Linked DNA regions of Homo sapiens: all the other regions are linked to region 4. The links are contacts of gene promoters, found by promoter capture Hi-C in blood cells and fetal thymus (Javierre and others, 2016). All regions are on one chromosome and are shown on one strand. The core of a region is centred on a gene start or on the middle of the fragment in contact, and the rest is flanking DNA. Distances in the headings are between cores, read along the strand shown. Region 1 overlaps ZFYVE27 (zinc finger FYVE-type containing 27). Region 2 has its middle 11 kb from the start of ZFYVE27. Region 3 holds the start of FRAT2 (FRAT regulator of Wnt signaling pathway 2). Region 4 holds the start of MMS19 (MMS19 cytosolic iron-sulfur assembly component). Region 5 overlaps PI4K2A (phosphatidylinositol 4-kinase type 2 alpha).

What was found. The method cuts DNA at HindIII sites, captures the fragments that hold promoters and counts their contacts. A CHiCAGO score of 5 or more calls a contact.
Region 1: a contact is called between a fragment that was not itself captured here and the fragment with the promoter of MMS19 in region 4, in 1 of 17 cell types (neutrophils). The highest score is 6.5, in neutrophils.
Region 2: a fragment that was not itself captured here is called in contact with the fragment with the promoter of MMS19 in region 4 in 3 of 17 cell types (M0 macrophages, M2 macrophages and M1 macrophages); the score reaches 6.6 in M0 macrophages.
Region 3: a contact is called between the fragment with the promoter of FRAT2 here and the fragment with the promoter of MMS19 in region 4, in 6 of 17 cell types (neutrophils, activated CD4 T cells, monocytes and 3 more). The highest score is 22.4, in neutrophils.
Region 5: a fragment that was not itself captured here is called in contact with the fragment with the promoter of MMS19 in region 4 in 7 of 17 cell types (M0 macrophages, M2 macrophages, M1 macrophages and 4 more); the score reaches 12.2 in M0 macrophages.

The regions. Positions count from the first base shown.
Region 1 is chr10:97,742,335-97,745,034 of GRCh38, reverse strand. ZFYVE27 (zinc finger FYVE-type containing 27) reads right to left here. Exons shown (of 13, transcript NM_001385875.1): 3 at 1,871-1,941; 4 at 120-306. Among named protein-coding and RNA genes, the nearest start is that of ZFYVE27, 6.6 kb to the right of the region's middle. The HindIII fragment of the contact is 7,063 bases long and covers 1-2,700 here.
Region 2 is chr10:97,724,528-97,727,227 of GRCh38, reverse strand. No RefSeq gene overlaps it. Among named protein-coding and RNA genes, the nearest start is that of ZFYVE27, 11 kb to the left of the region's middle. The HindIII fragment of the contact is 1,175 bases long and covers 824-1,998 here.
Region 3 is chr10:97,333,332-97,336,031 of GRCh38, reverse strand. FRAT2 (FRAT regulator of Wnt signaling pathway 2) reads left to right here and starts at 1,303. Exons shown (of 1, transcript NM_012083.3): 1 at 1,303-2,700. The coding sequence starts at 1,460. The coding sequence ends at 2,161. It overlaps LOC105378448 (a long non-coding RNA gene), which reads right to left and starts at 1,186. Exons shown (of 2, transcript NR_188201.1): 1 at 1,061-1,186. RefSeq lists silencers at 735-1,084, 1,215-1,364, 1,455-1,604, 1,945-2,074, 2,085-2,134 and an enhancer at 1,685-2,592. The HindIII fragment of the contact is 20,442 bases long and covers 1-2,700 here.
Region 4 is chr10:97,497,076-97,499,775 of GRCh38, reverse strand. It overlaps MMS19 (MMS19 cytosolic iron-sulfur assembly component), which reads left to right and starts at 1,354. Exons shown (of 31, transcript NM_022362.5): 1 at 1,354-1,503. The coding sequence starts at 1,392. It overlaps UBTD1 (ubiquitin domain containing 1), which reads right to left and starts at 852. Exons shown (of 3, transcript NM_024954.5): 1 at 503-852. The coding sequence starts at 572. RefSeq lists silencers at 233-432, 443-1,202 and enhancers at 1,443-1,612, 1,973-2,022, 1,699-2,229. The HindIII fragment of the contact is 10,400 bases long and covers 1-2,700 here.
Region 5 is chr10:97,652,902-97,655,601 of GRCh38, reverse strand. The region is part of intron 2 of PI4K2A (phosphatidylinositol 4-kinase type 2 alpha); the gene reads right to left. Among named protein-coding and RNA genes, the nearest start is that of PI4K2A, 14 kb to the right of the region's middle. The HindIII fragment of the contact is 617 bases long and covers 1,016-1,632 here.

The DNA of each region.
Region 1 (2,700 bases), core at 175-2,674, 250 kb before region 4:
GTTAAATGAAGTAACAGCTGTGGTTTGCCTAATATGATGTCGAGCACACAAAGCTAGCACTTAGTGTCATGGCTGCTGTTACTGTTCCCCCACCTCCCTGGCCTCTCTTCCATACTCACAAGCTCTTCACCTCAGCCACGGCCTCGGGACGAGACAGGCGACCTCTCTGCAGGTCCTCCTGCCTCACGCTATGATACTTCCTCCGCATCAGCTCGGAATCAGGCAGCCGTGCCCGGCAAACCTCCTGAAGGTAGCCCAGCAGGGCGGGCACTGAAATCATCAGGGCACCTACTGAGTACCATGCACCTGCAGAATCAAAAACACTGCAGGTAACACAGGTAAGCAAAGACCAGGAGTCGGCCCACCCAGACGCCCACTGCTTGTTCCTCACCTCCTCCAGGGCTCTGCCAGTCAGGCCTTCCCTGATAGCTCTGTACGACACAGTGTCTCACCCCTACTCTCCAGCCCCCTTAACCCAGCTTCATTCCTCATAGACCTTATCACCACATGACACATTGCAGGCATGTCTGTTGTCTCCTCTAATGAAGTAAGCTCTTGAGGGCTGGGACTTTGTCCCTTTGGTCACTGCTGTGGCCCCATCCTCACTTTTAATACGTTTTAAGATGCTGCTAGCACAGAGGAGGCTCACGCTGGAGTGTGACTGCCAGGAGCTCCTGATGCCTGACACTCGGACCTCTGGGCCACTAAGGAAGCTAGAAGCCTTTCGTTCAGCTTTTAGGACACTGCAGACGATTGTGCCTTGAGAAATGGCGAAGCCGAGATAAAATTCAAAGAAAGAACTTCTTCCATGTAACATGGCACCCCAACAACAAGCTAACAGAGCAGCGGGCCCATAATAAATGCTTACTAAACATCTGTCATAGGAACTGACTTACTTTGGGAGCATATATAGAAAAATCAAACATCCTAGGAAGTTTTGAACAGGTAAAGATGAGTCCAACTAAGAAACAGAAAATGAGATCTTATATGAACTGGATTTATTTTCAACCTACTCAATCCCTATCTCCAGAGGAAACAAAGAAGACACCTGAGAAATACAAGGTAAGTAAAAGAACAAAAACATGAATAATGGCCCAGCTCCTCCAAACATTCTGTCCCAGACTCTTTATTCTCACCCTGAGGGGTTTGGCTTTTTATGTGGCCATCTGCCAGCGCCAACCACGGATAGGGTAGGGTCACGGTATGCACTGTAGTAAGAGGTTCATAGAAGACATTACCCATGACCCCAACAGACACCCATGTGTCCACACTTCTATCTCAAAGGCTTCATGCCACTCCTCACTGCTGGTGACTGCCCAGCAGCTCCCGTTAGGCTCACTAGCTGAACCAGAGAAAAGCAACAGATATGGCAAAAATCCCTTATCAGCTCCTCATCCCAGTACCTTTACTCATGCCATGTCCCCAGATGACCCTTGAATCAGCTTAAAAACCAAAATGGAAAAAGGTCAATGCATCCTCAGCAGGAAGTCAAGAAGGAAACAACGATAATACTGAGAGCAGCTACAATGCACTGGCTGCCTCTTCCACGCCAGGCACTGTGCTAAGTATTATGCCTAGACTGCCGCATTCCTCACAAATACTCTAGGAGGAAAGCGTCATTTTTATCCTCCCTCTAGAGGTAAGGAAAATTAGGCCTTAACAGGGAAGTTCAATAATCTGCCCAAGGTCACAGCAGGCAGCTCAGCCTGGATCGTCCCTCTGGAGGCTGTTTCTGACTCCAAGCAGACACAGAGGAACACTAACTCCAGGGCAACAAGAGCAGCTCCCACACATAGGGTGGGGCTGCATCCAGGTGTTCTTCCCCCACATTCGTTCACAAAAACCACTGGCCCCTGAAGGCAGTTCTTACCCTCATTCAAAGTGAGGAACAAGACGTTGAGGCCCAGGCAGGTCAGCAAGGAACACAAAGGCATCTGCCACCTACAATACAGAGAGTCCTGATCACTACAGAGAGTCACTCCTCCAGCTGGGGAGGGGAGACCAGGCAGCACAGACGGGACATCAAACCAGAAGAGGAGGCCTGGAACACAGAAGGTCAAGGAGAAACGAAAAGGGGGCCTCTCACTTGGACTGGTGACCAGGAGAGGCGGTAAGATGTCACACATTAGCACCTGGGGTGAGGAAACTGGTAGGTCTGTAGTGCTTTCTCCCAAAAGGAAGAAGAATTTATAAAATATCAGTTAAGAAACCCAGTTAATACCATTTAACCTGTGTTTTGTAAGGTTGTATTCTCCTTAAGAGGTGACACTGACAAATGTTCTTAATATTTTCCTCTATTCTTTTTTTATAATTTCATAAGAATATATAATCATTGCACAAGATTCAACTAATACAGAAATCAAGAAAAAACAAATTGTGGACTTCTTTGGCCCCATTTGTGCCTTTATCTTCTTATGTCCATGTTTTTGAAAATTTGAGAGTTTATCTGAGAGTTTATTTTGAATACCTATTAATTCAAAAAGAGAAACAATAGTAAAGATTTTATTTTAATATATTAAAAATCAAGATGAAAGTAGGGTGCAGCATTCACTTAGCAATCACACCTTAAGTGAGCTGGAACAGACAGAAGCAAACACAGATACATCACTGCCACCACCACCACCACCACCAAATGGCAATGCAGAAGCCCCCAAACAGGGAACAAGGAAGACCAGAGACTCAGATTGCTGAGAACAAGCA
Region 2 (2,700 bases), core at 162-2,661, 230 kb before region 4:
GACCAGTGTATATTTTTGGATTAACAGTTCAGTGTCATTGCCCTAAAAAGTGTTCAATAAATACATCTTTATGTTCTTGTACCTGGGAAAGAAGTACTCATGAGTAATGAGTTTTCCAGCTGTGAGACAGTGGTTGTTGGACAAACACAGCAAGGAAATGACTGTCTGCAGTTACATTCTTACTCAACAGCTCTTGGCAGCCATGAAAACAACCATTCATCAAACACTGGCACTAAAAGAGTTCACAGAGCAAGGCAATGAAAACTTCAGCAATAAAACCTTGTGCCTCCCTTGAAAGCGACGATTAACTGTCCACCAAAAAGTCCTGTGCCCCCTACCATGATATAGAGTTGTTGCTACGCAGCAGCTGCCTGGCTAGGGACTACATTTCCCAGCATCCTCTGCTTATAGGTCAGGTCCTGTTACTCCCAAGGAGGTGAGTGGGAGCGCTGACTGTTACTTCTAGATGAAGGTATGCAGGAAGCAGGAAACCTTCTCCTGCCTCTCCTCCCTCACCTGCGAGCTCAGTGCAGAGCAGATGGCCGAGCCACGGGGTGGAAGGAGCCTGGGTCCTTGAGTCACCGTATGGTGGAGCGTCTCCCTCTGCCCCAGAGTAGCCACAGTGCACAATTATGTGAGGAAGAAATAGATTTGTATATGAATAACAAATAGATTTTCATTATATGAAACTGCTGAAATGCTGAGGTGTATTTGTTATAGCAGCTAGCCATCAGCATTTATTCATTCCACCAAATGACTACGTATCATGTGCCTTTCATGGGATTATAGAGATGAAGAGCCTGGAATTCTTTCCTGAAAAGCTTACAGCCTAGTGGGACAGACAGACACCCTGAATAAGTATACCACCAATGGGAGAGCAGTACGTGACCCACCAAAAAACCTGAATACACCAACTATCATTTACAAACTTGAAAGAATTAAAAATAAAAAGAAATAAAAATGTAAAACCCAAAAGGCATCAGGCCCAGATTTATTTCATAGACAAATTTTATCGAACCCATTTTTTTTTTTCTGAGGCGGAGTCTGTCTCTCTCTGTTGCCCAGGCTGGAGTACAGCGCGATCTCGGCTCACTGCAACCTCTGCCTCCTGGGTTCAAGCAGTTCTCCTGCCTCAGCCTCCCGAGTAGCTGGGACTACAGGCACCTGCCATCACAACCAGCTAATTTTTCTGCTTTTTTGGAGAGGTAGGGTTGGTCTCTACTAAACTTAATGGTCTAGTAAATAAATACATAAAGATGTATTTATTGAACACTTGTTGACCAGGCTAGTCTCGAACTGCTGACCTCAGGTGATTTGCCCCCCTTGGCCTCCCAAAGTGCTGGGATTACAGGCATGAGCCACCGTGCCAGCTAGAACCCATTTTTTAAAATGATATAGTTAAACTATTCCAGAGCATAGAACAGTATGAAAAACTTCCTAATTTAGTCTGTGAGTCCAGAATCACCCCCTCTGTTACAAATCCCAAGCAAGAACACACACACACACACACACACACACACACACACACACACACACCAGATTTCATCTGGGGTATAGACAATTTTAAAATAATAAAAACAATAAGCCTACCACACAAATGAGCCATTCCACTGCTAGCTGTCTACCCAAAATAAATTAAAGCATATGTGTCCACACAAAGACGTGTACATGAACGTTCAAAGCAGCTATATTTGCAATAACCAAAAATTTGAAACAACACAAATGTCCATCAACAGGCTAAACAAATTATAGTGTATCTGTATATTCACTCAGCAATGAAAATGAACTACTGTTACTGCAACATCATGAATGAATCTCAAAATAATTAAGCTGAGTGAAAGAAGCCAGATACCGCCCTCTCCCAAAAGGAGCACATACTATACATTTCATTTATATAAAATTCTAGAATTCTATAATCATAGAAAGCAGATCAATGGTTCCCTGGTGTGGGGGAGATGGGAAGGAAAGAAGAGGGAGTACAAAGAGCACAGGGAAGCTTTTGGACATTATGAATATGTTTTCTTTCTCTTTTTTTTTTTTTTTGAGACAGGGTCTTGCTGGAGTGCAGTGGCATAATCATAGCTCACTGCAACCTCAAACTCCTGGGCTCAAGTGAGCCTCCTGCCTCAGCCTCCATAGTGGCAGTAAGCTGAGATCACTCCATTGCACTCCAGCCTGGGTGACAAGAGTGAAACTCCGTCTCAAAAAAAAAAAAAAAAACACACACACACACACACACAAGAAAGAATTCAAGAAAGAACAGTAGACACCAATGAGAAAGAAGGATTAGCCAAGGCTGGTGAGATTATCATTCCTTAGGTGCAGGGAGACCCAGAGTGGAATGGGGCAGGAGGGAGTTCACATTTATGAGCACTAACTATGACTGTGGGTCAGGCGTTGAGCCCAGCATTTTATGTATATCTTATGAAATCCTCCCAACAAACATATACTGCTGAGGGCTGAATTGCACTGATGAAATTGCCAGGCACGCCTCATCTCATGAAGCTCTTTCAACAGCCCAGTGAGGTAGGTACTAATATTATCCCCATTTACTAAGTGAGGAAGCTAAGAGGCAAAGAGGTTTCATAAATTGCCTAAGACTGGACAACTAATAAGAGATAGAGCTCACCTCTGACATCACAGCCTGAGCTCACCCAAAAATTAGAACGAGTCATGCTAACTGCCTGGGAGACACAAAAG
Region 3 (2,700 bases), core at 54-2,553, 160 kb after region 4:
ATTTAAATGTGAACCATGAGAGATTTTTTCCATCCCTTATATTTTTCTTTTTTTTTTTGAGACGGAGTCTCGCTTTGTTGCCCAGGCTGGAGTGCAGTGGCGTGATCTCGGCTCACTGCAACCTCCGCCTCCAGGGTTCAAACCATTCTCCTGCCTCAGTCTCCCGAGTAGCTGGGATTACAGGCGCCCGCCACCACGCCCGGCTAATTTTTGTATTTTTAGCAGAGATGGGGTTTCACCATGTTGGCCAGACTGGTCTGGAACTCCTGACCTCAGGTGATCCGCCCGCCTCGGCCTCCCAAAGTGTTGGGATCACAGGCATGAGCCACCCACCGCTCCTGGCCAATCCCCTATATTTCTATTTGAACCTTAAAAAAAAAAAAAGACCCTTCTTTAGCCGAGCGGCGGTGAGTCCTATTCTCATGATATGTCCGGGGGCTTGAAGACTGCGGGAGGGAAAGCCTCTGGGACCTCACCTCAGAGCGATTCTGCTCTGCTTCAAAGCGTCCCCTCTTAGGCCGGGCGCGGCGGCTGACGCCAGTAACCCCAACACTTTCGGAGGCCGAGGAGCGAGGACTCCTTGAGCCCAAGAGTTCGAGACCAGCCTGGGCAATATAGTGAGACCCCCCCCCCCCACCACCGTCTCTACAAAAAAAATTTTTTTAATTAGCCAGGCGTGGTGGCCGCGCCTGTGGTCCCAGCTGCTCCGGAGGCTTAAAGTGGGATGATTACTTAAGCCAGAGTTCGAGGCTGCAGTCAGCCGTGTTCGCGCCACTATACTTCAGCCTGGGCGACAGAGACCTTTTCTAAATAATAAATAAGTAAATAAGTAACGTGCCGCCTCTTCACTCCCAATTCCCTCCGCCTTTCCCCGCCCCGCCTCGTCGAAGCCGGACCCGCGGCGGCCCGCCCCTCCCCCACGACCAGGGCCGGGAACTGCGGGTGCGCGGGGCGGGAGTCGGGCGGGCTTAGGCGCGGCCGACACGTGGGGAGGGAGGCCGCGGCCCAGGAGGCGGGCCCGGAGTGGGTGTGGGTGTGTCCGTGCGTGGGAGAAACCAACCTCAGCCTCCTCCGAGGCGCCACGTTTCAGCACGGCTCGTTGGGCCCGGGAGGTCGGAAATCAGTCCCCACGCCCCGGACCCCCTCCTGGAGGGACAACGAACACAGGCGCGGGACGGCTTCGGTCACCGCCCGCGCCGCCCTTTGCCCCCGTGCCTGCTCGCGCGTCACCCCCGCCCCGGTGCGGTGGTAGGGCCCGGCGCGACGTCACCCATTGTTTACAAATCAACCCGAGCCGGCAGGATTCCGGCTCCAGCGGCTGCAGGCGCGTGGCTCGAGTGCCTGGCGGGCTCCGGCTTCCGCGTCCGCCCCTGCTCCGGCTTCGCCCGCAGCTCCGCGCCCGCGGGCAACCAAGCCCCCAGCGAAGCCCGCACAGCTCCGGGTGCCAGGACGGGGGGCCATGCCGTGCCGGAGGGAGGAGGAAGAGGAAGCCGGCGAGGAGGCGGAGGGGGAGGAAGAGGAGGACGACAGCTTCCTCCTGCTGCAGCAGTCGGTGACGCTGGGCAGCTCGGGCGAGGTGGACCGGCTGGTGGCCCAGATCGGCGAGACGCTGCAGCTGGACGCGGCGCAGGACAGCCCGGCCTCGCCGTGCGCGCCCCCGGGGGTGCCGCTGCGGGCCCCGGGGCCCCTGGCTGCGGCGGTGCCGGCGGACAAGGCCCGGCCCCCGGCGGTGCCGCTGCTGCTGCCGCCCGCTTCGGCTGAGACGGTGGGCCCGGCGCCCTCTGGGGCCCTGCGCTGCGCCCTAGGGGACCGCGGCCGCGTGCGCGGACGCGCTGCGCCCTACTGCGTGGCGGAGGTCGCCGCAGGCCCCAGCGCGCTGCCGGGGCCGTGCCGGCGAGGATGGCTCAGGGACGCGGTCACCTCCCGCCGCTTGCAGCAGCGCCGATGGACCCAAGCCGGGGCACGCGCCGGCGACGACGACCCGCATCGGCTCCTCCAGCAGCTCGTGCTCTCGGGAAACCTCATCAAGGAAGCCGTGCGGAGACTCCAACGAGCCGTCGCCGCGGTTGCAGCCACGGGCCCCGCAAGCGCCCCTGGGCCCGGGGGAGGCCGCAGCGGACCTGACCGCATTGCCCTGCAGCCCTCAGGCTCCTTGCTCTGACGCAGGCCTCCTGGAGGAGGAAGTGGAGGCCGCTGCGTAGACCCAACAGCGTCCAGTTCCTACTAACTCTGAGCTGAAGCCGACGTCGCCAGCCTGGGAGCGACCACTTTGGCTGCGGGGAGGCGCGTGGGGAGAGATCTCAACCAGAGAAGTTACCAGCCGCGGCGAGGCCGTCGGAGAAAACTTAAGCGTGGAGAAATGTATGCGCCAGGGTGCTTCCGTGGGGCATGAGAATTTCCCGGGCCATCCAAGCCCAAGGACCTGGGATAAACTGGGAGAACTATGGCAGCTACTTGCATCGACTTGTACCTCACTTAGCCCTTGGGGGCGTCGTGAGCTTGGATTGTTTAAGGAGGGCTCAGGGGTAGGAATCGCGATGGCTTTATAACAATACTTGAAAACTAACGACACGCATACATTTTCTTATTTTCTGGTGGAGGAGCTTAGTAAGTGGTGCTACAATTGCTGTGCAAAGAAATTCCAGAGGGGAGAAGAATGTAAAAGTTTGGTGGTGGGTGGCTTGGCATTGCCCCTTTTTC
Region 4 (2,700 bases), core at 105-2,604:
CCCAGAGTCCTGCGCTGCTTTGCAAGTCGGATTCCCGCAGACACGATCTGCAGCTCGATAATGACACAGTCTTTGGAAGGAGCGACTGTTCTCGCCTCGCTCGCTCCGAGTTCTGGGGACGCCTGGCTGCCCGCGCCGTGCCCCGACGGGCCGGCGTCCGACCCCGGCCGGAGCTGCCAGGCCAGCGGCGCCCTCGCCCCCGGCCTCCTCCCGATCCGTCGGCCCCGCTGCGGTCTGCAAACATTTCCTGCCCCCACCCCCACCAGGAGCTACCCAGTTGGAGAGAGTTGGTCGCGCAGCCGGCTCAGTGCTCGCAGTTGCCCCAACTCAGCTCCCCCGGCCGCCCGGCGCTGGGGAGCGGCCCCCTCTGGCTGCGGAGCAGCCCATCGGGGAAACCCAAGCGCCAGCACCAGTGGGGAGTCCATCGGTAAGCCCAGGACTCGGGCGAGGAGGGGGACAACTGGCGGGATGCCCGAGGCCCTGCTCCCTTCCCCATCGTTACCTGCTCGCTTGCGGGGGTGTCCCGGGGCTGCCGGCCTCTCCCGGCGCTGTCTCCCCACGCAGTTGCCCATGCTGGCTCCTCAGCCAGTCCCCATGCACCGGAGGCGGCGGGGTGGTCGGCTGCTCAGCGGACGGCGGCGTCCCGGGTCAATGGCTCCGGCCGCCCGGCATCGGGCGCTCCCCGATCTCCCCCCGGGGGCGCGCTCAGCCCCAGCGATGGCTCCGCCAAAACTTTGCGGGCCAGGGGAGAGAGGGAAGTGGCAGACTCCCCAGCACGGTCCCAGGTGGCCGGGCCAGGGGGGCCCGCGACGGTGCCCGGCCGGAGACCAGCTCCGCTGGAGGGGCGGAGAGAGGGGGCGGGCACCGCCGCAGCTACTCCCGGCTCGCTCGGGGCACCAGGCAGGGGCCGGCCCCCTGGAGCCTGTCACTCACCTGCCTAACCCCGCCCCAGGCCGGCCCCTCTCCCTTCCGCCGGCTCGCGGTGCCCGCGCCGCCGCCACCACCCGCCCCAGGTGCGCATGTGACCGACAGCACCGCCCCCTAGGGCTGGGCCTGATTTTCTCATTGGCTTCCCCCGTGGTGCGTACCGCCCCTCTCCCCACCCAGCCAGGTGCCCGCCCCGCAGCCCGTCTCCCGGGGAGCCGGGCTGGGAATTATTCGCCCTCAATCGCCTCCGGCTGCGTGCCCAGCAGCCGCCTTCCCTCTCGGTGCCACCGCCCCATTTCAGGCCCCGCCCCTCCCTGGAACTGCCTAGGCAGAAGCCGGCAGGCACGTGACCCCGGCGCCCCGCCCCCTTGCGCTTCCCCGGAGATTGGCTCGGGAGGCGCATGCGCGGAGAGCCCGTCTCGAGCCACCGCCCATATCCCCTCCCACGGTCTCTAGTTCGCGTTATGGCCGCTGCCGCGGCTGTGGAGGCGGCGGCGCCTATGGGTGCCCTATGGGGCCTCGTGCACGACTTCGTCGTGGGTCAGCAAGAGGGCCCCGCTGACCAGGTGGCTGCAGGTACGGCAGACGGCGCCGCGCGCCTTCCGCATGGGGGCCAACAGGAGGGAGCGGCCTCAGTACAGGCGCCGGGCGGGAAGGGAGGAGCGGGGTGACTTTGAGAGATTGGTCTCAAGGCTGGTTAGTGAGCACCGCGAGGTTCAGAGCCGTAACAAGTTAGAGAGTTGCCTGTGTCTTCCTTAAAACCATTTACACTTCTCATCTCCCTGTAGCCAATTATAGGGAATCATTACATTTTACAGATGAGGAAACTGAGGCTCAGCGAGGGCAAGAGGACTTGCGCAGGGCTGCAGACCAGGCAGGAGGGGGAGGTGGGACTCGGACCCAGGCGTTCAGGTCCGAACCGGGTGCTCACGCCACGAAGCCATGCTGTTTGTGGGAGGTTGACGTGTGGAGGTGCATCCTCGCAGCGTCCGCTCCCGTCGCGTGGCATCCTGGGAGTGGCAGATGGCCCCGCGCTCTGACTGGCTGGAATTAAGAGGAGTTGAGGAGACGGGCCAGGAGGAGCTGGAGATGTTCTGGGTGTCCTCCTTAAGACTTTCTCTCCGTTTCTTGCTAAAGTTCTTGATTAGTTTGCTCCATGACGTTTTATGTGGCGTTTGTTTTTGTCTTCTTCCCAGACCCCCACTTTCCTGCTTTTGACCAGTTCAGAGATCTCTTAGTTCAGACAGCTTATCTAAAATTAGAATAAAACGATTTCCAGGCTTCCGTGGAGTTCTGAGACTTTGCTCTTCTAGGAAAAAAAAAAAACTACTAAAAAGTTATTGAATGTTAGGAGGCCTTCAGATCTTGGGTTTAAGTAACAATATAAAATTATCTAATGAGTAGTTTTTTTAAAAAAACTTTGGAAATTTCGTATGCTTGGAGAGAAGTAAGGACACATTTCTCTTGGATATTGAGCGTATTAACCTTTAGAATATGTAAGAAAAGAATAGTGAATCTGCTAGAAATATAATACTTTGTTCGTTAGCAGTATTCCACTTTAATTCAATCATGCCACTATTGTTGAATACATATTATTCCCCAAACATGATGCAAAGCAATAGGAATATAAATACAAATTAGGTTAGATCTGTGCCCACCAGGAACTTATAGTATGCTGGGAGAGGCAACCATTCTGTAAGAGGTGTGTGCAGCGTAGTTTGGAAGCATCAAGGAGCAAATACCTGGTGCTGCCACCAAACTTAACATCTTACA
Region 5 (2,700 bases), core at 75-2,574, 160 kb before region 4:
GACTCTGTCCCAAAAAAAATATGATAAAAAAGAAATACAATCCAATTGTATTAAACCACTTAGATTTAAGGGTTGTTACAGCAGCTAGTATGAAGTACAAGGATTAACACTGTCATCTCCTGGGTTAGATTAGGCCAAATGCCCATCTTCTTTCCAGAGACAAACAAGTTGCAATTTACTCTGTACCCCTTCATTTCCTTTTGAAAAAAAATTTTTTTTTTTTTTTTTTTTTGAGACAGAGTCTCACTCTGTTGCCCAGGCTGGAGTGCAGTGGCACAGTCTCGGCTCACTGCAACCTCCAAGTCCCGCATTCAAGCAATTCTCATGCCTCAGCCTCCCAAGTAGCTGGGATTACAGGTGTGTGCCACCACTCCTGGCTAATTTTTGTATTTTTAGTAGAGAGAGGGTTTCACCATGTTGGCCAGGCTGGTCTTGATCTCCTGACCTCAGGTGATCCTCCTACCTCGGCCTCCCAAAGTGCTGGGATTACAGGCATGAGCCACTGTGCCCGGGCCCTTTTGAATTTTTTTACTTTGTGAAATTATTCGTATTCAAAACACAAACATTAAAATTGGTTTTCATTTTAATTAACTGCTATTTTTATGTATAGGCTATACACTGTAATCCTGGCTGCCTCTGAGGAAGGAAACTGAATGGCCAGGAGATAGGGGTAGCAGGGAGTCTGAATTACTTTTCTCTGTTTACCCTATGTGCCTTCTGATTTTTATACTAGATGCATGCATTACTTATTCTAAAAAAAATTTTTATGAGCCATCAATATTATACTTAAGTCAAATTGCAGTGACGTAATTGTAATCCACATATGCATCTATTGTCACACTTATCACATTGTCTTGTAATTATCCATTTGTATATCTAACTCCTCCTTTAAAATGAATGAGATTTGAGGAAGCGGAGAACATCTTATTTATATTAGCATCCACAGCACCTAACACAGTAGCTGGCATATGCTCATTAAATATTTATTAAGTGAATGAAGAATGAGTTACAAGCTTCTTTCAGAGACAGCAACAAGTGAGTTTTAGCATATAAATACCTAAAATCAAACTTATAAGAAAGGTATTTTCCTAAGCCTTGTAAAATTTATTACAAATAACTATTTTTTTTCCCATGAACCTGAGAGGCAAAATAACTGCCTCTCATCTATCGCTCCATGCTACCATCTAGTATTAATAGACTACCTAAAATGGATGTGCATGGTACTGTAGTAGGCACTCCCTGCCTTACAAATCAGAAAACTCAGGCATAGGAATGAAGGAAAAAGAGCTTTCCTAAGGCTACCTTGCCAGTGTCCACAGTGAAACTCCTGGCTCTCTCAAGCCATAAATCCCCTTTTGCCCCCATCATATTTATTTTCTATCATTCTTCCTAACAAACCACTTTTTCCCCATGACTAATGAAACTATCATAACCTGAAACCTCATAGGAGCAGAGAGCAGAGACAGCCAGTGAGTGAGAATTAGAGCCTTACCATTTGAAGTTCCAATGCAATGTGAACCTTGTTTCTATAATGACAGATGCTCTGATCAACTGGATAGAGTCCTGTCACAAGAGTTGGGGAGACAGGGAGAGGAGTCCTCTTACTATTCTCCAGCAGCTATATGTTAAGCTTCCAAAGTTCTGTCTCATCTCAGTCTCATGGAAGACAAGTATTTTTTTTTTTTGAGACGGAGTCTCGCTCTGTTGCCCAGGATAGAGTGTGGTGGCACAATCTCAGCTCACTGCAACCTCTGCCTTCCAGGTTCAAGCGATTCTCCTGCCTCAGCCTCCCAAGTAGCTGGGATTACAGGCACGCACCACCATGCTCAGCTAAGTTTTGTATTTTTAGTAGAGACAGGGTTTCACCCTGTTGGCCAGGCTGGTCTCGAACTCCTGACCTGAGGTGATCCACCCACTTAGGCCTCCCAAAGTGCTGGGATTACAGGCGTGAGCCAATGAGCCCAGCCAAGACAAGTATTTTTGTTGTTGCTGACTTTCTGATGCAAAAGATCCTCAGGCCTCGTGAAGGTTCTCTAACAGGGAAAGAGGAAGACCAAAGATAGGGACGAAAGGGATTGTGGGGGTGACACTAACGATTAGAATAGCTGATAAAAATATCACAGGCTAACATATGGAGGGTTTACGTTGTGCCTGGCACTCACTCAGCTATGTGCTTCATATAGGCTGTCTTGTGTAATATTGATGGCCACTCTACAAAGTAGGAACTATTTATATCCCTATTTTTACAGTAAGGAAACTGAGCCTAGGGAGGTTACATGACTTGCCCAAGTGTTACACAAATCAAAAACTGCAGAGCAAGAATTCAAACTCAAGTCCTCTGATTCTTGGGCACCACACTCCAGAAGCACCAACAGAGCAGGTAGGCATAGAGCCAGACACGGTCTGCTATTTGCCTAGTAAAGGAAGAAAACTATAGAGTGATAAGCAAGGAGAATGTAAAAGTTTCTAGAGTCTAAGAGGAGCCTAGTAGAAGCATTTCAGGTTAGGAGACTTAAGAACATTAATTATCATACAAGATGTTCAAAGCATGCTGTAAAACTATCTGCACAGAGAGGGAAAAGTAAGGCATAAAGAGAAGGAATGAGCTGTACAAAGCCAGGCAGTGAATTAGATGTGAAATGGGAACTAGAAGCCTGGTCAAACATTTTCTCGCTAGACCTAAAGTTGGAAGAACTTTGG